Regions from separate parts of the Homo sapiens genome. Here regions 1, 2 and 4 are each linked to region 3. The links are contacts of gene promoters, found by promoter capture Hi-C in blood cells and fetal thymus (Javierre and others, 2016). All regions are on one chromosome and are shown on one strand. The core of a region is centred on a gene start or on the middle of the fragment in contact, and the rest is flanking DNA. Distances in the headings are between cores, read along the strand shown.

Region 1 (6,477 bases), core at 3,978-6,477, 200 kb after region 3:
CTGGGCGCAGTGGCTCACGCCTGTAATCCCAACACTTTGGGAGGCCAAGGTGGGTGGAAAACGAGGTCAGGAGATCAAGACCATCCTGGCTAACACAGTGAAACCCCATCTCTACTAAAAATACAAAAGAAAAAGAAAATTAGCCAGGCATGGTGGCATGCCTCTGTAGTCCCAGCTACTTGGGAGGCTGAGGCAGGAGAATCGCTTGCACCCAGGAGGTGGAGGTCGCAGTGAGCCGAGATCGTGCCACTGTACTCCAGCCTGGGTGACAGAGCAAAAAAAAAAAAAAAAAAAAAAAAAAGAAAAGAAAACATATGCTCTGTAAGATATAATTACATATATAAAAATGAATACATAAAGGCATTTAAATGTATTATATATGTAATATAATATATATGTTTACTTTATAACAAAGTAAATGGATAGAATACATAAAAGGAGATATACACACACAATGTAAGTACATGCTCCTCAATATTGGGAACTGTAGGCATCTTCTTCTTACACTTTTCTGCATTTCCATATATTTTCTAGTAGAAATATATAACTTCTACAATCAGAGAAAAAGTGAAAATAGTATAAGACAATTCAGCTTAAACACACATACATATGCACACATAGATGCACACGCTTATCTTGACTTGAGACAAGGAAAAACCACCTAACTATATGTTGCTTCTTGGGCCACCTCAATCCCCAAGAAGAGCCTGATACTTGTGTGGTTCCAGTGTGAGTCAGGGTTGAGACATTCCCTTCCCAAATATCAAGCCTCTCCACCAGCTCTCCTCTCATAGTTTCTCTCCTCCCTGCTCTCCTTTGTTAGCCATGTTTGACCCACAATCCTGACTCTGATCACCGGGTGGCACTTACCTCAATATGTAAACATTCTCCTGAAACAGGTATTATCTTGGTAAAAAGAAAGTTTAAAGAAAAAGTTTATTTTTTTTACACACAGGATATGAACCAGTGTGTTCAGTAGAATCCCACTTCTGTTTGAAAAATACATATTCATAGAAAAGGATAGAAGAGTATACAATTGCATTCTTCATTCATTCATTTAATTCAACAAATACTCCTGGGCCACTTGCTATGTTCCTGGTATCATAAGCCAAAATTGATATTTCCATTCTAATCTCTTTTCCAAACTTCAAACACATATCTAACTGCCTACTAGACATTTCTACCTGGATTGAGATAAAAATGAGAAAACTCACTCAAATCCACAAACCAACAAGAATACCATACTCAGCAAGTCTAAATCAATGATGCCCTAAGCCCTGAAAAGCTACTATCTAAATTGGTGGCCGTGTGGTAGAGTGGGAAGAACACAGAATTTGATGCAAACAAATCTGAGTTAGAACACAGGATTTGCCTCCTATTTATCTGCAAAATATTATCCTTCATTTGTAAAAATAATTATTTGTTTAGATTAGTGTTTCGTAATGGGGGAAGGAGTTGTCTCTGGTCCTTTTCTAGGGACCCTGAGCCTGATCCCATCTATGCTGCTTCACCACTCCTGGGAGTTTGCAGTCGTATGCATTGTTTCCTAAGAGCAGGGGGACCCTGGTTAGCAGAGGGCTCTCTCTCCATGGTCCTGGACCCTCAATGCTTTCTGCTCCGGAGTTGGCCAGGCAAGTTGCTGTTTGGACATGTGATAGAGATACCAGCCTTCTGTGTGGACAGGAAGGTGGGGAGAGGCTGTCTTAGTCCATTTTCTGCTGTTATAACAGAATACCTGAGACTGGATAACTTTTTTTTTTTTTTTTTTTTTTTGAGACAGGGTCTCTGTTGCTCAGGCTGGAGTACAGTGGCACCGTCATGGCTCACTGCAGCCTCGACTTCCTGGGCTCAAGCAATCTTCCCACTTCAGCCTCCCAAGTGAGTGGGACTACAGGCACACTCCACCATGCCCAGCTTTTTTTTTTCCTATTTTTTGTAGAGATGGCATCTCACTATGTTGCCTAGGCTGGTATTGAACTCCTGGGCTCAAGCGATCCTTCTGCCTTGGCCTCCTAAAGTGTTGGGATTACAGGCATGAGCCACCGTGCCCAGCTCTAGGATAATTGATAAAGAATAGAAACTTATTATCTTACAGTTTTGGAGGCTGGGAAGTCCAAGATCAAGGCACTGGCATCTGGGATGGGCCTTCCTATTGCATTCTTACACGCAGGAAGGCAGAAGGCAAGAAAGAGGAACTCTGTGTTTTCATGAGGCAGAAGAATGGGAGAGAACCCACTCCTGCAAGCCCTTTTTATGATGGCATTAATCCATTCATGAGAGTACAGCCCTCATGACCTAAAAACCTCCCATTAAGCCCCATATCCCACATCCCCTGTTGCATTGAGGATTAAGTTTCCAGCATATGAATTGTGGGAAACACGTTCAATCATAGCAGAGGCCCAGGGGCTCTGGATGCTGCTGACCCTCCACCACCAATGCCTTAAAAAGCATCTTCACACCAATTCACAGCTTGACTGTCCTGGCTCCCAAGTCGTGAGCTGGGCCTGCAGTGCATGAGGGTTTTCAGATAGGAGGCAACACCACTTTTCTCCTGAGTTGTAGGACCACATGTCTTTGCAAGTTCCCTTTATCTGGGGTCTCCTCTAGTTCAGGGTCTGTGCTGACTCAGACATCAAATATAGTGCACCAGGCAGACACAGAGCTAAAGTCTTTGCAGAACCAACCAAACAGGCCAGGGCACATCAAGGCCCTTCTGGGACTCTGAGCAAGGTGGGTGGGAGAGGGATGGGTGAGGTTTTGTGTGCTGTCTTAATTCTATGTTTGCCCCAGTCTTCTTGGGGGCTACTTCACTGGACTCTGAGAGACGGGTCAGCCCCTTCTGCTTCAACCCCAAGTTACCTGGTCAGATCTGTACAGACATCTGCTTGCTCAAAGACTATCCCAATGAATGTTTCCTGTCAGGACACTTTGGGGCTTTATCTCCTCCCCTACAAAATGTTCCCTAAAAGAGAGAGGGAAAAGGAGGGAAAGGCAAAGTGCTCTGACCTGCAATAGGGCAGTCAGTTCTCCTCCTCCAGGTGTGTCTGTGCAGGGCAGCTTGGCCATTAGCCTAAGAGGGCCCTGTGCCTGCTGTAGGCTGGAGCAGAGAAACAAAAGTCAGACCCACCCCAGAGGGGAATGTGGCCTGAGTGAGCCCTTCCACCTCCTGCCTAAGCACCACCACTCTTAGCGTTAGGGGGATGGATTTATCCTCTCTTATAAAACTAATTCCAGTGAGCCTGGAACCTGATCTCACTCCAGCCAGAATTCCAGTTTTACCAGCACCCATCAGGCTGTCATTGGCCTTGAAGAGTGTTCTGGAGACATGAAGACCTCCTCCAAATGGCATTGTATGGTAAAAATATAAAAACAAAAGAAAGCCAAGGGTACAGGGCTGGCTCAACCGTTTTTTTGAGATCATTACTAAAGGAGAACTTTGAATTTACTTCTGATGCATTTTACTCATATTGAAAGTATGGAATGTAAGGTATTATATAACATCAGTCATGGAAAATACATTTCTATTAAGTTGTCTCTTAGGTTTTAATTTTGTGTAAGGTCTTGCTTTGCTGTAAGAAATCTAAATTTTATGTTATAAAATTTGTATGACTATCTTTAGTTGCTTACTTAAAAATATGCTTGGATGAGGCTTTCACCCTTTTAATTCTGACACAATTATCTGTATTTTCTTCCATTTACATCATAGTTTATTCTCAATAAAATCAGAAGTATACCATATATGCCAGTGGCTGTCCAACTTTTAGTGTGCTAATTTATGAAAAAGCAGATTTACTGGGTCTGGCGTAGAAAACGGGTTTCTGCATTTTTTATAAGGGAAACACTGATATATAAAATATTTAAATAATTTTAATGTTGAATTTCAGTTAACAATCCCTCCTTCACCACGTTCCTTTTGGAATTGCAAATCATAGCTCTAGAGAAGTCAACACAGTAAAGCTTATATAGTCAATCAAAGAGAATCTCAGAATTCATGACTGGGTCATGATTTTTAATCATTATTAACCACTCTGTATCTCTAGCACTAACAGAATCAATAAAACAAAATCTTAGGATTTATAAAGGTAGCTTAGTAGAGAAATCATATCTAATATATATGTTTATGTACATATACATATATAGTACTTTAATGTTGTAGAAAGTAGTTTTGCATGTGTCTTGCTGATATGGAGCAGTGTAGAAGGGGGAATGTCTTAGTTTGAGCCTAAGCATTATCTTCCTCTTTAATTTATACAAGTTGAGCAAGTCAGCTGAATTGGCAAGGCAAGCTTGCCAGAAGCCCCTGAGAGAGAACTCATCTTAAGGCAAGTTAGACAATTAAAATGATAGTTATCCTTGGATATTTGGGAGGGAAGTTCCAATTCTGAGTACACAGCATGGTGTCTGGCTCAATAATTTTGTCTCCTAGCCCAGGACCTAGTGGAATCATGTTTGAGTCAGGTGGAGAAAAGGTGGAATCATGTTTGAGTCCAGTGGAGAAAAGGAAGGTCCTAAATGGAAAAAAAAAAAAAATGGAAGAACTATTTTACTAAGCATTTTTTTTTTTTTTGAGACGGAGTCTTGCTGTCTCCCAGGCTGGAATGCAGTGGCGCGATCTTGGCTCACTGCAAGCTCTGTCCCCCGGGTTCAAGCCATTCTCCTGCCTCAGCCTCCCGAGTGGCTGGGACTACAGGCGCCCGCCACCACACCCGGTTAATTTTTTTTTTGTATTTTTAGTAGGGATGGGGTCTCACCGTGTTCCCCAGGATGGTCTCGATCTCCTGACCTCGTGATCTGCCTGCCTCGGCCTCCCAAAATGCTAGATTACAGGCGTGAGCCACCGCGCCTGGCCTTACTAAGCATTTTTTAAAGACATTGAGGTCTAAGCAGCATTGAGATGGTAGCCTCCTAGCTAAGTGCAATATTAAAGCTGGAAGAAGGGCATTCATATATCTGCAGGAGACACAATTCAGCTTGGGCCCACCAGGGACTCCAGAGCAATCAGTGAGGCTTTGTACCTTAAGCAGTCCAGCACGTCAGCAGGGATGAGAGCCAGTGGAAGGATCAGGACCCAGGAGAAGGAGCAGCTGTGCCTAGCAGATACGGTAGGTATCTGAGAGTACAGCAGGACATGAATAGAATGTGGCACTCACTTGGAATCTCACCGGAATTGTTTGTGAGCACAAGTGAGATCTCCTTTGGGTACCTTCCCTATGTCTGCAGGGAATCTATAGGGGTTGGGGTCCTGCCTGTGCAGGTGGAATAAAGACCCCGAACATAGCTCACACAACCTTTTTCTCATCTGGTCCCACAGTAGCACTGTAAAGCAAGTATTATTCCTATTTAAATGAGAACAAAATGACTATTAAATATAATCCATATCTGGCTAATATTTGTGCCTAAGAGATTCAGAAAAAAACATAGGATTCACTTTTTTTAAAGTTCTGACAAGTATTTATTAAGTGCCACATTGTCGTTATAAGCTGATTGACAGTTTTCTTCAAAATTGTGTGATTTTTTCATTATATATTTTTGCAACACAAGTAAAACGTTTGTCCTGAAAAAATGAGAAATTCAGATAAAACAAAAATTTAAAAAATCACCTATTATCTTACCACACAACCACTGTTATGCCTTTGAAGTCTATACTTTTAGCTTTTTCTTTGCATATTAATATATAAATATACATTTTTTTTACAAAAATGGGATACAATATATACCATTTGAAAATTGCTTTTTTCGTTTCACAATATATAATGTACATCTTTCATGCAAATGTGTAGGGCTCATGACTGAAAGAGGGAAACTTGTAGATTTTAGGGGGAAACCTCAACTTTAAGCGAGTTACATGCTAAACATCTAAAATAAAGCCTCACAAAAAGTTAAAATTCAGAATATGGGAAAAGGCATTAAGAAAATGCAAACAGAAAGTCCAGGTGGCAATGGCAATACTATTAGCAGGCAAAACAGAATTAAAGGCCGAACACATTAAATAGGATAAGGACGGCTCCGTTTTGCCTTCCAGTGCATTATCATCAGTTTGTTTCTTACTCTTTTCATCTCTTCTAGCTCATCTGCTGCCTGTATCATCTCCTCATTGCTTAAATTTCTGCCATGTATGTCCCCTCTAAATTGCGGGCGAGAACGAGCCAACCTTTCTTTAAAGCTTCCTTCTTCAAGCTTATGTTTTCCTACTCCACAAGGAGGCTGCTCCATGGGAGGGCGCCCCTCAAACAGGTCCTTCCTGGAAAGACCCTCCTGCGGAGGGCGCTCCTCCGAGAGGAGCATCTCAGGCAGGAGCTCAGGCAAGAGCTCCTCAGGAAAGAACTCCTCCTCCGAGGACTGCTCCTCCGAAGACTGCTCCTCGGGGGACTGCTTTTCGGGAGAGTGCTCCACCGGAGGCCTCTCCTCATCGGTCTTGGGCGCGCTCTGCGGCTCTTCTTCATTTTCTTTGCGTGGTTTGTCCATGTTGGGAATTTT
Region 2 (6,851 bases), core at 2,705-5,204, 130 kb after region 3:
AGACAAAATCAACCAAGCATGGGAACCACTAGGGAATTAGGAAGCCAGGTAGCATTATCATCTGCTCAGTGGAGGAAATGTAGAATAAGCTCTTTGACGGCAAGGACTGTGTCTTATACACCTTTTTTTTTTTTGTAGAGACAGGGTCTCACTCTGTTGCCCAGGCCGGTCTTGAACTCCTGAGCTCAAGGGATCCTTCCCCCTTGGCCTTCCAAAGTGCTGGGATTACATGGGTGAGCCACCATGCCTGACAATCATACAACTTTTTAGCTCACATAGCTCCTGGTACCTAGCAACACTCAGTAGGTACATGTAGAATGATAGTGTGACTTCCCATTCGGTTTACTGTATACTACATTCATTCTCTTTCTGTGAACTTATTGGTCACAGAAAAAATAGACCAAAAAGAGATTTTATAAAACCAGATAGAGTTCACACACACACACATGCATGCATACATACCACACACACAAACTGCTCTTTGGGTGTAACAGAACCAAAGCTAAGAAGACAGCAGAACCTTGTAAATTGTATCCCTGAATTAAGAATGACAATGTTCTCAAGCGTACAACTTCCTAAACACACTGCACATGCTCACTTCCCGAGGGTAAGGAGGGCACTGTGCATGCAGGCAGCCCACCCTAAGGGAAGAATCATGGGAAAGGGGCGCAAGACACCGGAGGTGGGCCAGCCTATAAAGTCCTAGGATCATGGTTAAACGGGGCACTTGTTCTTCAAGTCGCCCACTTGGATCTCTTCAAAGTGCACTTTATTTCCTGCTTTAAAGCTTTTTAATAAACTTCCACTCCTGCTCTGAAAAAAAATGATAATGTTCTGATTAAACATTAGTAATATTCCAAATCTGAAGACTAGTATCAAGCTATATTTCAAAAACCAATCACCCGATAAAAGCCCTGGCAGTGACTAGTGAGTACAGTAGCAGGGATTTTGGCCTCTGCATGCTCCACACATTGTTCTCACTGGAAAGCCAGTCATCTCTGAGGGGATAGCAATTAAGCTGGTCTTCTCAGCTCACACTCTTCGCTACATGATGAGACTTCACAACTAGGATAATGCGTACAGTCTATGAACTTGGGCTGGTGGTATCAGAACAGCTTGTTAGGAAATCCTAGAAGGGCATCTGAGCCAGGGGCTTTCTCCCTCACAAAGCATTCTCTTCATGGAAGGATGATGAAGTAAATCTTATGTCAGGGAGCCACCTGAAGAAGTCACATGAGAACTCAGCTATTGTCACTCTGCCTGTGTAGCTCTGTTTTTCTCAGTCTCTGCTTTCACCATGAGGCTTTCTACAAATATCCTGGTTGCACTATACCGTATGGGGCATTACCAAGGAAGTACATGCTCTCACTATCAATTTTATGGAATAGGGAAAATTCTTACCATCATCTAAATTCAAGGAACATTTAGCCTTACAGAGCTGGATCGAGAAAAATGCACACATATTCTTTATTTTAATAGCTTCTATTCATGACAGTGTAGTGATTACTGGTGGCTTTGGTACCAGACAGAGCCTGGGTTTGAATTACAATTCCAGCACTTACTAGATATGGGTTCTTGGACAAATGACTTCACCTCCCTCAGTCTCAGTTTCCTCCTCTAAAGGGACATTTGAAGGCTCTGAAATATCCAGCATGCAGTAACTATGTGGCCTTGAGTAAATCATCAAATTTTTCTGTGCTTCAGCTTTTGCATCTGTTAAATGAAAGCAATAACAATACCTACCTCATAGGGTTGTTGTGGGAATTAAATGAGATAATGCAGTCTGGGCACAGTGGCTCACGCCTGTAATCCCAGCACTTTGAGAGACTGATGCAGGAGAATTGCTTGAGGCTAGGAGTTCAATACCAGCCTGGGGAACATAGAGAGATCCTGTCTCTACAAAAAAAATGTAAAAATTAGCTGGGCATGGTGGTGCACATCTGTAGTCCTAGCTACTTGGGAGGCTGAGGTGGGAGGATTGCTTGAGCCCAGGAGTTTGAGGTTACAGTGAGCTGTGATTGCACCACTGTACTCTAGCCTGAGTGACAGAGCAAGACCCTGACTCAAAAAAAAAAAAAAAAAAAAAAAAAGAGAGAAAGCAAGAGATAATGCAGGTAAAGTGCTTTTTTGTTTGTTTGTTTTGTTTTGTTTTGTTTTTTTGAGAAGGAGTCTCGCTCTGTCGCCCAGGCTGGAGTGCAGTGGCGCGATCTCGGCTCACTACAAGCTCCGCCTCCAGGGTTCGCGCCATTCTCCTGCCTCAGCCTCCTGAGTAGCTGGGACTACAGGCACCTGCCACCACGCCCAGCTATTTTTTTTGTATTTTTAGTAAAGACGGGCTTTCACCGTGTTAGCCAGGATGGTCTCGATCTCCTGACCTCGTGATCCACCTCCTCGGCCTCCCAAAGTGCTGGGATTACAGGCGTGAGCCACCGCGCCCGGCTGGTAAAGTGCTTAAGTCAGTGCTTGGCAAATAGTAAGTGCTCAATTAAAGTTAGCTTTTACATGACCAGACTACATCATCATAATCTCTCTTCAAATTCCATGCTGTGAGTCTCACTTGCTAAGCCCACGCTCACAAAAAGGGTCAAGCTAAAATCACTTCTCTTTATATTTTGTTTCTCAACTGACACTAGGTTCTTCCTGCTGGCATAAAACGTGTTTAAAAACTATACAACCATGGAAAATGGCTTAATCTCTCTTAGCCTCAGCTTTTTCAGGTGCGGGGAAGAAAAGGAAGAAGGAAAAGGAGGAGGGAGAGGGGGAGGAGAAAAAGAAAAAGAGGAAGAAGTGAGTCTTCCATCTAAAAGAAAAAATAAGGAGACAAACTACTCTCCATTGGACCTTGAATTTCTCTCCATTGACCTAATTGACCTATTGCCCTCTTTTTATTCACCACCAAGTTTCTTTTTTCTTTGTTGTTGGTTTTTTTTTTTTTTTTTTTTTTTGAGATGGAGTCTCTCTGTTGCCCAGGCTGGAATGCAGTGGCGTGATCTCAGCTCACTGCAGCCTGTGCCTCCCAGGTTCAAGAGATTCTCCTGCCTCAGCCTCCCAAGTAGCTGGGACTACAGGTGTGTGCCACCATGCCCGGCTAATTTTTGTATTTTTAGTAGAAATGGGGTTTTGCCATGTTGATCAGGCTGGTCTTGAACTCCTGACCTCAAGTGATCTACCTGCCTCTGCCTCCCAAAGTGCTGGGATTACAAGTGTGAGCCACCACACCCGGCCCAAGTTTCTTAAAAGAAATGTCCTTACTAGCCATTTCCACATTGTCACTTCTACCATTTACTTCTTAACACACTGTAATCTATCTTCCGCCTTCTTCCCCCTACCCACCCCTCAAATGCTTTTCCCATATTCCTCATACTACCTTCTTTTTTTTTTTTTTTGAGACGGAGTCTTGCTCTGTTGCCCAGGCTGGAGTGCAGTGGCACGGTCTCGGCTCACTGCAAGCTCCACCTCCTGGGTTCACGCCATTCTCCTGCCTCAGCCTCCTGAGTAGCTGGGACTACAGGCGCCCACCACCACACCTGGCTAATGTTTTGTATTTTTTAGTAGAGACGGGGTTTTTTAGTAGAGACGGGTTTCACCGTATTAGCCTGGATGGTCTCGATCTCCTGACCTTGTGATCCATCCGCCTTGGCCTCCCAAAGTACTGGGATTACAAGCGTGAGCCACCGTGCCCGGCCTCCTCATACTACCTTCTTAATCGCCATGTCAAGTCAACACTTTTCTGCCCTAACCTTCCATGATTTCTCTGTAACATTTGTCAGAGTTGTCACACCTTCTTTGAGATTCTCTTCTCTCATGGACTTCATTCTCTAATTTCTTCTCTTGACCCTCTGCCATACCTTCTTATGTGTTCTTATTCTCCAGGATTTAATCTCCTGATTTCACTTCTCCTCACCACACGCCTACTGCTTGGCTGTTCTTGACTGTTTCCATGGTTGTGATAACCTATGTGCTGATGATTCTTACATTTCTGACTTCATCCCATGGGTACCTCAAGAGCCAAAAAATGGCCGGGCGTGGTGGCTCACGCCTGTAATCCCAGCACTTTGGGAGGCCGAGGTAGGCGGATCACCTGAGGTCAGGAGTTCTAGACCAGCCCGGCCAACATGGTAAAACCCCGTCTCTACTTAAAATACAAAAATTAGCCAGGCGTGGTGGCAGGCGCCTGTAACAGCTACTCAGGGGGCTGAGGCAGGAGAATCACTTGAACCCGGGAGGCGGAGGTTGCAGTGAGCGGAGATCGCTCCATCATACTCCAGCCTGGGGAACAAGATCGCAACTTCGTCTCAAAAAAAAAAAAAAAAAAAAAAGCCAAAAAACTCACAACCTCCTTCAAACTTTCTCTGCCACTCTGTCCTTCAACTTTCCTAATCTTGATGAATCATCTAAGCCAGAAACTTGGGAGTCGTCCTTGAAAACTAGTTCTTCCACAGCCCTCAGATAAAATCAATTACCAAGTCCTGCTGTGTTTACCGTTCAAATATTTCTGAAACTCCTGCCTCCTTCTCTATACTCCCTGACTTCATCTTGGTTCAATCTTTGACTCCAGTGTGGTTTCCTATCCTCCACACTATTGCCAATTTGGCCTTTCTAAAACTGTCTATTTATGACACTTCCTTGCTTTGAATCCTTCAACGGCTCCCTATTGCCTCAGGAAAAAGCCCAAGTGGCTTAAGTTGGCCTACCAGAAATTTTCTTCTCTGGCTCCTGCCAGTGACTCCAGCCTCTTCTCTCATCACTCCCCTCACTCCACTAAATGCATCCTTAATTTGGCCTTGCTGATCCACCCACAGATCCCTGAACCCAGCAAGCCGGATCCTGTCTAATGCTCTGTGCCTTTGCACATGCTGTTCCTTAGCCTTTCAACGCCTTCCCTTGACCACCTGAGGTATTCTATTCATCTGTCAAGGCTCTCGCCAGATATCATGTTTTCTGTGAGGCATTCTCAAACTGCTATGACCCTAACATCCAGATAGATTTAGGTTATCTGATAATGCCCTGTACATAGCTCTATATTTGTACTTGTAAGATTAGATACTGTTCTTTTGTCTATTTCCCTCACAGATAAATGAGTTTGAGGTCAGGGATTATAAGGTATTTATCTTTGTATTCCTCATACCAAGCTCATAGCAAGAAATGAATTAGTGTTTACTATATAAGTTTTTAAAAGTCATGAGTACTGTAGTTCAAAAAAATTTTTAACCACCCAATTGCTGTGCTAGTTCTCACTAACTATACTTTCTTTGCAAGGGTCGTGTCATGAAGTACTACACTATCAAGGTAACAAGTATCTTTGTGGTTTTTTTTTCCCCCCTTTTCAAAGCTCTTAAGTGCCATGTCATCCTCAAAGCAAACTTGAGGTAAGATAACCAGGTATCCATGTAACAGGTGAGGAAATGAGGCTGAGAGACCTTAAGGGACTTACCCAAAGTTACCTATTTCTCAGTACAGTACAATAATTTATCTATTTGGCAAAGGATTTTCAAAGTCATTTTCAAGGAGTCCTAGGGTTTCATGGGAAGGGAAGGAAGGACAGGCAGCCATACCCATCCCCCACACATATATACAGACGTTTCAATCTGCATAACTCCACTCTCAGTTTATATACTTGCTTTACCATAATATTTTCTTTGGAGTGAGGAGAGAGGATGAGAAGAGTTTACTGCTTCTTTAAAAAATTTGAAAATCAAAACTGCATCATCTATAACTTTCAATTTAAGCCATTTAACAGGTCAAGGGATGTTTCAGCTGTATTATTTGGCAATATTATAGAAAGATCATTTTTTGAGAATAGGCTAAAGTCAAGGGCTATGATGACAAAGGAATCTAACAATTGGGCATCTTTCTGACTCTAAGCCCCTCTTCAAGTTATCAACCTACAGAAGTCCTGAATACTTGTCACCCTACCTCCCCTTTTACTTACTAACAATGCCTGGCTAATGACCTCAGTCTTATCAGTCCTCAGTTTAATGCTAATCCTTAACTACTTCAGACAATGAGAATCATTGTTACAAAGACAGCCCTGACCATCAGAAGGGCAAGAATGCTTAAGACAATTGGCCACAGCAACACATTTGCTATCCTGACTGCATTTAACTCTCACCAATATGCCCATGCAGAGAAATAAACAGTTGGCTCTTTTAGAAAACAAATGTCTCATGGGATTTCCCATAAGACAACTGGCTCAACAGATAACAATGTCTTAGAATTTTAGAAACTGGCGGCTGAGCACAGTGGCTCACGCCTGTAATCCCAGCACTTTGGAAGGCCGAGGCAGGTGGATCACGAGGTCAGGAGATCGAGACCATCCTGGCTAACACGGTGAAACCCCTTCTCCACTAAAAATACAAAAAATTAGCTGGGCGTGGTGGCGGGCGCCTGTAGTCCCAGGTACTTGGGAGGCTGAGGCAGGAGAATGACATGAACCTGGGAGGCGGAGCTTGCAGTGAGCCAAGATCACGCCACTGCACTCCAGCCTGGGTGACAGAGCGAGACTCCGTCTCAAAAAAAAAAAAAAAAAAAAAAGAATTTTAGAACCTGGCACAGCAGAGCTAGAAGGGCCTTCCCAGATCATTTAGTCTAGTCTGCTCATCAGACAACATGGGGATACTGAGGGCTTGATTGGGCAAAGCTCAGGCCCTCAGTGTAGTCCCCCTTTTTTCTCAACTTAGTTGAAGCTGTGAAAGGAAAGAATAGAACAGGAAGGGAAAGACTAGAGTGTGTCATCATTTATTAGCTCCAGAGGCTCACTTCTGGGATGGCTCTGACTTGTAGACAGCAACAGATTCAAGGCCAAAGGTAATCTGCAAGGGAAAAAACTGTTTCTGTGATGAACATTCAGT
Region 3 (6,807 bases), core at 2,246-4,745:
GCTAGCTTTCTAGGTTTGGCCAAATTGAGCAATTATGTTTTTAAGTGTTTTTATGAATTTGTATATTTAAACATATTTGATATATTTCAATTCATTGTAGTTATTATCTTTACTGATGCTCAAATTGCCCCGTGTTTGACTGATGACAGCCTCTTCAAGTCCTTTTGACTCAACTCTAATAATGTTTTTAGCTTCCTTGCTATCTGGTGTGACAAGATATTTTATGTTCATCTTGGATATTTCTTGCCACATATCTGAAGTCAGCCATTTATTTAAGTAATCCTGGGTCCTTTTATTGGGAAATAGCATTTAGAACCATCCTATGGGCACTATAGGTGAATTTGGACACTGAGATTTTCATTGTTTCTAAGTATTTTTAGTGGACAGAGCTTAAAAATTTTTTTTAAATGACTAAACTGAGTTCATACTGATGCCTTCCATAATTGGATAATCTTAAGAGATCTTTCCTTCAGGCTATGAAAAATCTGGCAAAGTATTCCTATTCCATAATATTATCCCTGTGTCAAATGATTTTTTAAAAAAATATTGTATCACCAGAAACTGTGACTTGCTCTTGGACAATGATAGGTAAATAGTTCACAAATTCTTACTAATTTCCTATTTACATATCTATGACTGCCATAATTTCTGAATAAAACATTAGATGATCTCATGAGTATTGTTGTAAAAATTAGGACAATAGGACAAAGTATTTGAAATCAGGACTATCTGGAAAATATAACGTGTATAGTTGCCACATAAATATTCTAGGACAAAGATGACAAATACGTTGGCCTATGAATATGTTCAATATTAATGATTAGGACAGTAGTTGCTAAATTGGGTCCTGAGCTGTTCTAGTCCTGCTAATAGATGTTCCATAAACAAAAGAAATTCATGTTCACAAAAGTTTTGGAAATGTAAGATTGAAAAACAACACAACAGATTTCTTTACTTCAGGACTCCAAGAGACGTTAATGTTTTAATATGCAACGTGACTCTTCTGGAAGGGAAATAGTATGCAGTGTTTATACACTTATTTGAATGCTTCACGGAACCCTCTTGTACATAACAACTTGTGACTGCTGGACCAGGCTGTTCTTTTAAATTAATCACATTACAATTATGTCTTCCTGAAGCTCAGGTCAATGTATTTCAAACTGATCAGGATGAGACTTTGGGAGATCTTGTTCATTGAATGTTGAAGAGCGTATGTGTGTGTGTGTGTGTGTGTGTGTGTGTGACTCTGAAGGTAACCCTATCTCTGGTATCCAAACGCAATCTTGGTTTGGCCTTCTATCTACCGACTACACTATGATTCTATTGTGTGTGTGTGTGTGTGTGTGTAACTGTGTTATAAAAATAGAATTTTTATTGTGTGTGAAGGACACTATTTGACAGATCTCAATGATTGACCATTGGGAATAGTCCCATCTGAGAGCCACAAAACCATCCACAGCTGTTACTTTGAATCTTCGTGCTGTCCATTTTTGCTGATCCCTCACAACTAGTGTTAGTCATGTTGCTTCCATTCTAGAAAGATAATAGTAGCTGCTTTTTAAGTGGCCTCTAGAGACTCTTTTAATATAGGATTTACATGTAGGAATCTTTGGTCTAACAAAGGATTTTTCTTACCTTTAGGTGTTCCAACATTCACTAAACGTGTGGTGCTTTCAGCAGTTGTGAGATCCTGACTACAGAACGAGGTAGCTTAGAAACTAAAAGATCCTTAAAACTTGCCAGTTGGTTTGGGGGTTTCTCAGAGATTTTTAAACTGTTGGAAAATGGCATCTATGAGAAAATGAAAAAGTAGTCTAGATTGTTACACCTAAAGACGAGTTACTCTAATATGAAGGACTGTTATTTAAAGCATTTCACAAAACTATTTATTGAGGTGCAAAAAGAAAACATTGGAACATCAATATATTTATTTTTCTCATTCTTTTAAAATTTCTGTGGAGTATTTTAATGTTTACTCATTAAAATGTATGTTTAAAGTAATGTGTAATGTATACATGTACAGTAGTACATGTATATAATCTATAAATCCTTATACATATGTTGGGGCCCATGCTCAATAGTTTTTTAATAGACTAAAATGTATGCGGAAAATTTGATTTAGAGGATTGTGTGAATCTCGTCTTCATCAGAAGAGTGTTTTAGAGTGTATGTGTGGGGAACGGGGTTGGTTTAAATAGGAGCACATGAGATTCAGTTACATCAATTTATTTTATTTAAATATAACAACTATTAGTGATACAGCATTCATTCATATTCAGCAAATATTTTCTGAGCATGTCCTATGCAGCAAGCATTGCCCTAGGCTCTGTGCATACGGTGGTGAACACAAACGTTGTCCTTGACCTCATAGTCCTTCCCCACTATAGTTTAGTAGGGAAGACAGCTGTCAACCAAATAATCATACACTTAAATGTACCACCAAAAATGGGTAAGTGTTATGAAGGAAAAATACAGCAAGTTACAGGAGGCTACAAGAGTATAAACTGGGGCACCATCTCTATTCTGAGATTATCGAGAAAGGTTATCCTGAGAAGTGACATTTAAGCTGGGGCCTGCGGAGATTGATTGCACGATTGCCTTGTCAAGAGACAGAGGAAGAGTGGCCTAGATGGAAGTAGCGGGTATGTGTGAGGGCCTGGACGGGGTCATGAGATGAGTGAGGGCCTGTGCCACAAGGTCACAGGGTTTCGGGCAATGGGGAAGCTTCAGAGATGGAGCTGCCTGACAGAGAGGTGGAGTGCAGGCTAAATGACCTCAGGAGCTTTGTCCTTCTTCAATTCCAGGGGGAAAATCACAAACTAGTTGGAAGTACCAGAGGGCTACAGAAAACAACAAAAAGAGACTAGCTGGTCGGCTAGGCACAATTAAAACATCAAATTCTGCCCCAGCAGCAATTCCGGGAAATTCAAGTAATGCCCCCTGTGTGGCCCTCTAGAACTGTATCTGGTAAGAGTAAAGGGCAGTGTGTCCTCTATGCCTGCGCTACAGATGTGGACATTTTTTTTAATTGCCTGAAAATTTCATAAGCTGTAGCCAGTTAGAGGGCCTAGCAATGTGTTGTGATCATGTGTTTTCCTGAGTTATTTGAAACAAGAGGGTGTATGTACTACCCTCTTGGCAAAATTAAAGGATTTTGAGCTAGGATAAATGAGGTAGATCAGAGGATAATTGCAGGAAGTGGGGCAGTGGCTAGCCCTGCTTGAGGGCTTAGGCCCAGGCTGCAGAGGAGCTAAGTGGAAGAGCAATATTTGACGGTCTATTGCCGCTGTGCCTACTAATCGGCTAGGGGAGGAGAAGGAGGACAAGGGAGACCAGGGTTGGACGATGAGCATGAAAGAAGAGTGGGCGAGCCAGGGAGCGCTTGCCACATGGAGGGCGGGAGGCGGCTACACCGGGTCCCCACCGCCGAGAAAGGGGCACGAGGAGGCGGCGCGGGCCCCGCCCCCTCCCCTGGCGGGCGCGGGCGCGGGCTCGAGACGCTGCGCGGCGGCAGCGGCGGGCGCGAGCGGCAGCTGTCAGGCCACCGAGGTCCAAGCCGCACTTGCTGCCCCATTGAGGACGAGGAGGCAGCAGGAGCAGTGACGGTGACTCTAAGGAGCCGGATTCCCGGCACGCAGAGCTGACCTGCCTGGCACCCGCGGCCCTCTCCTGTTTCCTTCCCATTGTGTTGGGTAAGGTGCCTGTGCGTGGGCAGGAACAGGGGCTAGGGGCTGGAGGACCCGGAAGGCCGGGAGGTGGGGGGCCTGTGAGAAGAGGGAGAAAGGAAAGTCTAGTTGATCCCCAGGACCACTCGTAGCTTGAGAAAAGGGACTGAGCCGCTCCCGAGGTCGGAGTCGGGGGCAGGTGACAGTGCAGGGGGGCGTTGCTGAGTAATCCCGAGCTGCTGCCAGAGCCGAGCAGAGAGGCGCAGGGCTCCGTGGGGAGCGGGTGTGGCTCAGTGCGCATGCGCCACAGCCGACTAGCTCTAAGAGCTGGGGGTGAGGTGAGAGGACCTGGGTCGGAGGTAGTTGGGACTATGTGTGACATCTCACTTTCTAGGTCCGTAATGCTAACAGTGCCCCTGTCGTAGAGATGCCAGCATTCTTGTCTCCCAAGGAAGCTTTTTTTCCTTGTGTTCAGCTCGCTTGATGTCATCCAAACCTTATCTACCTATCTGTCCCTGGGCAGTCTACTGAGGAAGAAGTGTCCTGGGGACGATGCCAGATTGCTATCTAGTGTGCCTTTGGGCTTATAGCCCTAGAGCTGTCGTTGTGAGCAGTGAAAGGTTAGATGTGGGACTCCACATTGGACCCTTTGAGTTGCATATAGGATATAAATGTGGGCATGAATGTAGGAATAGCGTTTCAGTGGCATGACAGCTGTGGCATTTGGAGTCGGCATGGATGTAGCTGATAACTTGTTAGCTCTGCAAAATGAATCCAGTGCGTCAGAGGGTTTCCGCGCTACGAAGCACCCACCACCAGCACCAACGCCAAGTATTGGGTTGTATTGGAAACACACTCAAACATTCAATCATTTCTCATCCGTGTTGAATTTTACATAAATATAGCCGCGCCCAATTCTTCAGTGCAATATTTCCAATTATTGTGCCAGCATTCAACAGTGAGTTGAGTAGCCCTTACCAGTGTGTCGCCACAAGATGGGCTTTCCCCACAGGTCCAACCATGGCTCCTCCCCTGTACAGACTTCCAACAGTGCCACTCTCATCCAGTGCCTAGCCCTCCCCAGTTGCTCTTCCCCTATCGATCCCTGCAGTACACATCCCTTTCAAGACTTGCCTCCGAGCAATCTGCACTACTGATTTTGAGCATCATTCCACTCCATGGCAACTGAACTGATGCGAATTTGCTTTTCTGCCTCTCTTCTCTCCATCATCATACTAAAATGTACTATTTTCAAAGGTTCAACTTCTTTTTCTTCATTGTACTGCCTCCTCCCCCACCTCCACTCCCACCTCTAAGCATTCCCAACTAAATACAATAATTTGAATAAGGCTTTGTGGGTACTGCAGATTCAGAAGGTTTCAAGTGTGTTAAAGAACAAAGAGCTGGGGAGTATTGGTTATGGAAATTCCTAATTCACCTTACTCTCCAAGACTGAGACCCTGATGGGAAAAAAAAAAGTTAGTAAACTATCCTTAGAGCATGCTCATTAATGAGTTTGTGGGGGTAGGAAAGGGGAATTGCGTCTCTCGAATATTTTACTCAGTTAGAGTCAGATCTTTCTCTGAATGGGATCAAAATCAGAATAAGCGTTTTGGTCCAAATGCTCGCCCGACAGAGGACCCATAAGGGATGCATACGTCATTTGACTTTCCTATTTACGTATTTAGTGTTATCAAAGAATTCATTTGCCTGCTTAATGTTACCTTGTTTAAAGGTTTGGATTAAATCCGGCATATTCTGGGGGAGGAAAAAATGATTTCATTTGCTTTTACACTGTGCTAGTTCTTTTTAATTTAAGTATGTACTAAAGGACATGACATTCATTTTCAAACAATGATAAATGATTGTGGAGAGGCCAGCACCCACCGACAACATCAACTGGATATCATTATTCTGCTCTTGTTTTGGGTAGGAATGGGGAAATGTATATACTTATTTTTAAAATGTGAGAGTAGGGGGAGGAAAACTGGAGCATTTCCCTTGACTTTCAACAGGTGGAATTCCCATTACTCCCCATCCAGAAAATGATCGAGTCAAGTTCATAACTTCTGCTCTTTAGTTACCTTATAAATAATAGTATTTTGGCATCTTACAGAACTATGGATCTATTGTACCTTGGCATCAATTCAGAGGCATTAATTCTGGGCACCTACCTAATCATTTAATTGGTAAACAAATATTTATTATCTCCATGGAGGATCCTGGTGCTGCACACTGAAGGGGCTTCAAAGATGTATACAGTGAGCTTACTATCTAGGAATTTAAAATTGATCATGTAAGAAAGACAGGAAAAGTTTGTTAACAAAATAAGTCAGTATAATGACATTATTTCAACTGTAAACAATGAGATCCTGAGCTTGCATGTTAATTTGTAAACTCCCTGAGGGCAAGACCTTGCCTTAAACATTTATTAATTCCCAACAGTATCTACATCCAATGGATGTTTGAGTGATGAAGCTTTGCAAAGTAGATTGAGTGGGGAGACACCAGAAGCAGGGAGAGAAGAACTTTCACAATAGATTAGATGTGAGAAATTGTGGGCCAAAATGAGGATGGTAGCACAGGACTAGAAAATGATACTTCAAGGGAAAATCAGCAGGATTGAATGAAGGCAAGGAGACAAATCTAAACTGTATTCATTTTTACTTCTAGAAAATAAATGGGAGTTGGAGACAGCAGAGGAGAGTGGAGGGTTTCCTTAGTAAGGACACAACACACAATAGGCACTGTAGTGTTTTCTCAAATATCAGTAGCAAGATTGGACCAGAAGACCCTGAAGGTCCCTTCAATGCTGAGATTCTGTGCCATATGCAGATGTTCAAGCTTGTTGAGGAACAAGGCATTCTCAAATATGGAAGAAAGAGAAAAGGAAGAATTCTTATACTTTCACTAGCAGGCCCTTTCTGAGAAGGGTTAATACTGAGCCACAAGGCCCCCACCAGTGCATGAAAGGAGGTGGAGGAGCCAGAGGAATAAAAATCTCAAACCAAATTTTTCAAAAAATGCTTACAAATCTTTGCAAACTTCATAAGCTTTTCATTCTCCCCCAAAATCCTGTTAAGTAGGGCAGGTATTATCTGCTCTATTTTTATGTAAGAAGATACTGAAACAGAAAGATTAA
Region 4 (6,039 bases), core at 367-2,866, 240 kb after region 3:
ATACTGAGAGGTATATATAAGAATTTTCATAGCCGCATTATATATAATATTGAAAAGCTGGAAATAACCTAAATTTATATAAAGAACAAAACAATAGCATAAACTGTGATATGTTCAATAATTGTATACTACACATCAATGCAAATAAATTAATTAAATCTAAACATAGAAACATGGATTCATACCATAAACATAACATTTTAGCTCAGGCTGCTATAACAAAATACTATGGCTTATAAAAAGCAAATTTATTTCTCATAGTTCTGGAGGCTGGGAAGTACAGGATCAAGGTGATAGATTCAGTGTCTGGTGAGGGCCCTCTTCCTCACAGATGGCTGTTTTTCACTGTAACCTCACATGGTAGAAGAGTGAGGGAGCTCTCTGGGGTCTCTTTCATAAGGGCACTAATCCCTCCCAGTGGCCCCAACTCCTAATACTATCACCTTGGAAGTTTGGATTTCAACATATAATTTTTTGGGGGAGGGACATAAACATTCAGTTTCATTGTATATAGTATTGAATAAAATATGCCAGCCATAAAAAATACATGCTGTATAGTTCCATTTATATACAGTTCACAAAACAGGCAATATCCTAAACTGTACTGCTTAGGATATAAAATATAAAGAAAAACAAGGAAAGGGTTACCATAAATTTCAGGATTATTATTAGCTCTAGTGGTAAGGAAGGGGGATGACTGAAGGGGACATCAATGGCATTTCTGGACTGCTAACAGTATTCTACTTCTTGACATGAGTGGTGATTACCCAGTTTTTCATTTTGTAATAAATAATTTAGCTCTACATCTTGTGAATGTGTGTGACTCTATATGTGTGCTATCTTTCATGATCAAATGTTAAAATGGCAGAACCACAGGAGAAACAAATTCACAACCATAATGAGAAACTTAATATGTTAAGTTTAAATTGTTATCAGTAACTGATAGAGCAAGCAGATAAAAATTCAGAAATGATAAAGAAGCTTGGAACAATTTGACAAACTTTTCTAAAGGACGTATACAGAACTCTGAACCCAGTAAATGTAGGCATGAAACATTTTTACAAAAATTAATTATTAGGTCATAAAGATGTCACAATAAATACAAAAGGATTGCAGTTATACACATGTTCTCTGACCCTCAATACACCTATACAGAAATCAATAATTAATAACAAAAAGAAAACTAGAAAACTTCCATATTTGGGAATATTTTTGCCCTTTTCTCACATCATTCCTCCTGGCATTTTGTACTAAGAGAATTTGATTTGGTGTTAGAGAATTCAGGCTCTATGAGGGGCATACTTTTTGGCCCAATATAACTAGTGGGGGTCACAAGTGAAAGGAGAGTCATCAAATCTACTGTAAATATGGGATAATTGATATTTGGAGTGGTCAAAAAATGTTTCCAAGATCAAAGAGCTGATAGTAAGTTCCAGTAGTAACTGGAACTCATGACCCCAATAGTCCATGATCTTAAGATACTCTGCTAGACTGCATCTCTCATATCCTGTGAGTTGTATGTGTGGTGATGGGCAGGAGTCAGCTACTTTGTGCTCCATTTTGAAGATAAAAAGACAGCTGGTCCTGGACCCTAAGTCTGTGGACTCTATTCTCAGTAAACTCAATGACTGGCCTGTGTAATTTAAGAAGGCCCTGCTCTCTACATCTCAGAGCTTTTTTCATAACAAATGTCTACTCTCTAGGGGGAAAGATTTTACCAGAGCTCTGTCTCAGAGCTGTGGGGTAACAGTGATTACCTAGCTCCATCACCCTCTACACTTCTTGTGTCATCTAAGGGGAGGATCGACGCTATACAAAAAGAAACACTTGCGAAGGTCACAGGCCAGAGACATAGGTCCACTAAAAGATGGAGATTTAATTGGAAGATTATAGAATACTCCCTATCCCCAATGTCTTATCACTACACCATCAGGGCTCTAGTATAATAGTAAATTACAATGGAAAGAGCTGCAAAAACCAGAGTGTTTCTGTTTGGGAAGCCCAAAGTCAAGAGGGGAGACAAAAACAGGAACACTGAGAAATTTGATGCCTCTAGCACCTATAGCAATAGCAAACATTAATCAAATCACAACTCCTAGCCAGATTAACATAGCTCCTTACACTAGAGGCTTATTTACCTTATTTACCTCAGTTCCTATATACCTGATATAGCATGTCTAGTTTTTAACAAAAAATTACAAGACAGCAAAAGCAAGGGGAAAAAAAGTTCTGAAGAAACAAAGCAAGCTTCAGAACCAGACTCAGATATGATACAGTTTTTGAAATTGTAAGACAAGGAATTTAAAATAACTATGATCAGAATGGGTGTGGTGGCTCATGCCTGTAATTCTAGCACTTTGGAAGGCCAAGGTAGGAGGATTGTTGAGGCCAGGAGTTCAAGACCAGTCTGGGCAACAGAGCAAGACTTCGTCTCTTAAAAAAAAAAAAAAATTAGCTGGGCATGGTGGTGCCTGCCTGTAGTCCTAGCTACTTGGGACGCTGAGGCAGAAGGATTGCTTGAGCCCAGGAGTTTGAGGCTACAGTGAGCTGTGATCATGCCACCACATGCCAGTCTGGGCAGCAGAGCAATATCTTGTCTCTAAAAAAATAAAAATAATAATAAAATAACTATGATCAATACATTAAGGGCACTAATGGAAAAAGTAGACAACATGCCAGAATAGATGGATAATGAAGCTAGAGAGAAGGAAATGCCAATAAAGACTCAAAAGAAAATACTAGAAATTAAAAAGAAAACTAACAGAAACAAGGAATGCCTTTGATAGGTTCATCAATGGACTGGACACAGCTGAGGAAAAAGATCAATGAGCTAAAGATATGTCAGTAGAAACCTCTCAAACTGAAATGCAAATAGAAAAAAAAGACTAAAAAATAAAACAGAAGAGAATATCCAAGAACTATGGGACAATTTCAACACAAGTAACATGTGCTAAATTGGAATACCAGAAGAAGGAATAGAGAATGAAGCAGAAGAAATATTTGAAGTAATAATGGCAGATAACTTTCCAAAATTAATAGACACCAAACAATACATCCAAGAAGTTCAGTGGACAATGGGCAGAATAAATACCAAAAGAAAACACCACTACACCTAGGCATATAATATTCAAACTGCATAAAACCAAAAACAAAGAGGAAATTGCCGAGACCAGCTCAGTCATGGAGACCCTAGCCCAGTGGCGCTAGAGGAATTAAAGACACACACACAGAAATATGGCATGTGGAGTGGGAAATCAGGGTTCTCACAGCCTTCAGAGCTGAGAGCTCCAAACAGAGATTTACCCACATATTTACTGACAGCAAGCCAGTGATAAGCATTGTTCTATAGATTATAGATTTACTAAAAGTATTCCTTACGGGAAACAAAGGGATGGGCAGAAACAAAGGGATGGGCTCTGGCTAGTTCTCTGCAGCAGGAACATATCCTTAAGGCACAGATTGCTCATGCTATTGTTTGTGGCTTAGGAACGCCTTTAAGCGGTTTTCCGCCCTGGGTGGGCTAGGTGTTCCTTGCCCTCATTCCGGTAAACCCACAACCTTCAGCGTGGGCATCATGGCCATCATGAACATGTCACAGTCTTGCAGAGATTTTGTTTATGGCCAGTTTATGGCCAGATTTGGGGGCCTATCCCCAGCAGGAAATAATGAAAGAAACCAGAGGGGAAAAAAACACCTTACCTGTGGAAGAACAAGGATAAGAACTGCAGTGGAATTGTCACCAGAAACCATGCAAGCAAGAAGACAGTGAAGTGAAATATTTAAACTGTTCAAAGAAAAAACAACCAACCTAAAATTCTTTTTTTTTTTTTTTTTTTTTTGAGACAGGGTCTCACCCTGGCTCGGGCTAGAGAGCGGTGGTGCAATCATGGCCCCCTGCAGCCTAGACCTCCTGGGCTCAAGCTATCCTCCCACCTCGGCCTCCTGAGTAGCTGGGACTACAGGCACATGTCACCATGCCAGGCTAATTTTTGTATCTTTTTGTAAAGACAGAGTTTCTACATTTTGCCTAGGCTGGTCTCAAACTGCTGAGCTAAGTGATCCACCTGCCTTGGCCTCCCACAGTGCTGGGATTACAGTTGTGCACCACTGTGTCCAGCCTAAAATTCTATATCCAGCAAAATTATCCTTCAAAAGTGAAGGAGAAATGAAATAAGTACTTTCTCAGACAAATAAAAACTGATGGAATTCAGCACCAGCAAACCTGCACTTTAAGAAATGTTAAAAGATTTTCTTCAGGCAACTGAGATCTACATAAAGAATGAAAGAGGATTAGAAATGAAATAAATGAAAGTAAAGAAAAATATTTATTTTTCTTATTCTTAATTGATCTAAAAGATAACTGTCTGAAGAAATAATAGCAACAATATACTGAGTGATTATAGTGTATGAGTAATTGAAATGAATGACAAATGCTCTGCATTAAGGTATGTGCACTACATACAAGTTAAGCATAAGAGTGTTATCTGAAAGTGGACTTGGCTGGGCACGGTGGCTCACGCCTATAATCCCAGCACTTTGGGAGGCCGAGGCAGGTGGATCACGAGGTCAGGAGATCAAGACCATCCTGGCTAACACAGTGAAACCTTGTCTCTACTAAATATACAAAAAAAAAAATTAGCCGGGCAAGGTGGTGGGCACCTATAGTCCCAGCTACTCAGGAGGCTGAAGCAGGAGAATGGTGTGAACCCAGGAGGCAGAGCTTGCAGTGAGCCGAGATTGCGCCACTGCACTCCAGCCTGGGCGACAGAGCGAGACTCTGTCTCAAAAAAAAAAAAAAAATTAGCCGGCGTGGTGGCACATGCCTGTAGTCCCAGCTACTCGGGAGGCTGAAGCAGGAGAATCACATGAACCCAGGAGGTGGAGGTTGCAGTGAGCCAAGGTCGCACCATTGCCCTCCAGCCTGGGCAACAGAGTGAGACTCCGTCTCAAAAGAAAAAAAAAGAAAGTGGACTTAGATTGGTTAAAATATGTAGTAAACTCAAGAGAAATCAGTAAAAGTTGTTTAAAAAAGTATAACTGATACTCTAAGAGAGGAGACAAAATGAAACCATGTAAAATAATTAAAACCAGAGAAGGCAGAAAAAGAAACCTTGGACAACAAATAGAAAACTGTTACGAACATGGTTGATATTAATCCAAATATATCAAGAAACACTCTAAATGTGAGTAGTCAAAATACACCAATTGAAGACAAAATTTGTCAGAGTGAATTTTAAAAAAAACCAACTAGGCCAAGCACAGTGGCTCACGCCAGTAATCCTAGCACTTTGGGAGGCCGAGGTGAGCAGATCACTTGAGCCCAGGAGTTTGAGACCAGCCTAGGAAACATGGTGAAACCCCATCTCTACAAAAAATACAAAAATTTGCCAGGTGTGGTGGCATGTGTCTATGGTCACAGCTACTCAGGAGGCTGGGGTAGGAGGCTCGATTGAGCCCAGGAGGCCAAAGCTGCAGTGAGCCATGATCATGCTACTGCACTCCAGCCTAGGTGACAGAATGAGACCCTATCTCAAAAAAAAGAAAAAACCCAACTACCTGTTGTCTACAAGAAGCCCACTTTAAACATAAGACTGAGAGGTTAAACATAAAGCAATAGAGAAAGATATATCCTACTACACTAATGAAAAGAAAGCTGGAGTAGCTATATAATTTTAGACAGAACTGACTTCAGAACAAAGACAATTATCAGAGATAAAAAGGGGCATTACATAATGATAAAGGGAACAATTCTCCAACACATAATAATTATAATTAGTTATGTACCTAACAATAGAGTGTCAACATATGTGAGGCAAACACTAATAGAAATGAAAGGAGAAATAGACAAAAATCCATTATTAGAGTTGCAGACTTCAATAACCCCTCCTGCCACTCAGTAATTGATAGATTAAGCAGGCAGAAAATCAATATGGATATAGTTGATCTGAAAGGCATACTAATCAACTTTAGCTAAATGACACTTCATCTAATTTACAGAACACCCCAACAGCAGAACACCATTTTTTTCAAGCTCACATA

The links. The method cuts DNA at HindIII sites, captures the fragments that hold promoters and counts their contacts. A CHiCAGO score of 5 or more calls a contact.
Region 1: a contact is called between a fragment that was not itself captured here and the fragment with the promoter of RAB9B in region 3, in 1 of 17 cell types (total B cells). The highest score is 5.1, in total B cells.
Region 2: a contact is called between a fragment that was not itself captured here and the fragment with the promoter of RAB9B in region 3, in 2 of 17 cell types (total B cells and naive B cells). The highest score is 6.6, in total B cells.
Region 4: a contact is called between a fragment that was not itself captured here and the fragment with the promoter of RAB9B in region 3, in 1 of 17 cell types (total B cells). The highest score is 7.2, in total B cells.

The regions. Positions count from the first base shown.
Region 1 is chrX:103,629,905-103,636,381 of GRCh38, reverse strand. TCEAL1 (transcription elongation factor A like 1) reads right to left here. Exons shown (of 3, transcript NM_004780.3): 3 at 5,429-6,477. The coding sequence starts at 6,465. The coding sequence ends at 5,986. Among named protein-coding and RNA genes, the nearest start is that of TCEAL1, 4.2 kb to the right of the region's middle. RefSeq lists an enhancer at 6,453-6,477. The HindIII fragment of the contact is 1,877 bases long and covers 4,289-6,165 here.
Region 2 is chrX:103,697,051-103,703,901 of GRCh38, reverse strand. No RefSeq gene overlaps it. Among named protein-coding and RNA genes, the nearest start is that of TMEM31, 10 kb to the left of the region's middle. RefSeq lists enhancers at 5,363-6,113, 6,114-6,851. The HindIII fragment of the contact is 6,329 bases long and covers 790-6,851 here.
Region 3 is chrX:103,828,945-103,835,751 of GRCh38, reverse strand. RAB9B (RAB9B, member RAS oncogene family) reads left to right here and starts at 3,495. Exons shown (of 3, transcript NM_016370.4): 1 at 3,495-3,692. The HindIII fragment of the contact is 1,396 bases long and covers 2,727-4,122 here.
Region 4 is chrX:103,592,786-103,598,824 of GRCh38, reverse strand. No RefSeq gene overlaps it. Among named protein-coding and RNA genes, the nearest start is that of TCEAL4, 10 kb to the right of the region's middle. The HindIII fragment of the contact is 1,266 bases long and covers 984-2,249 here.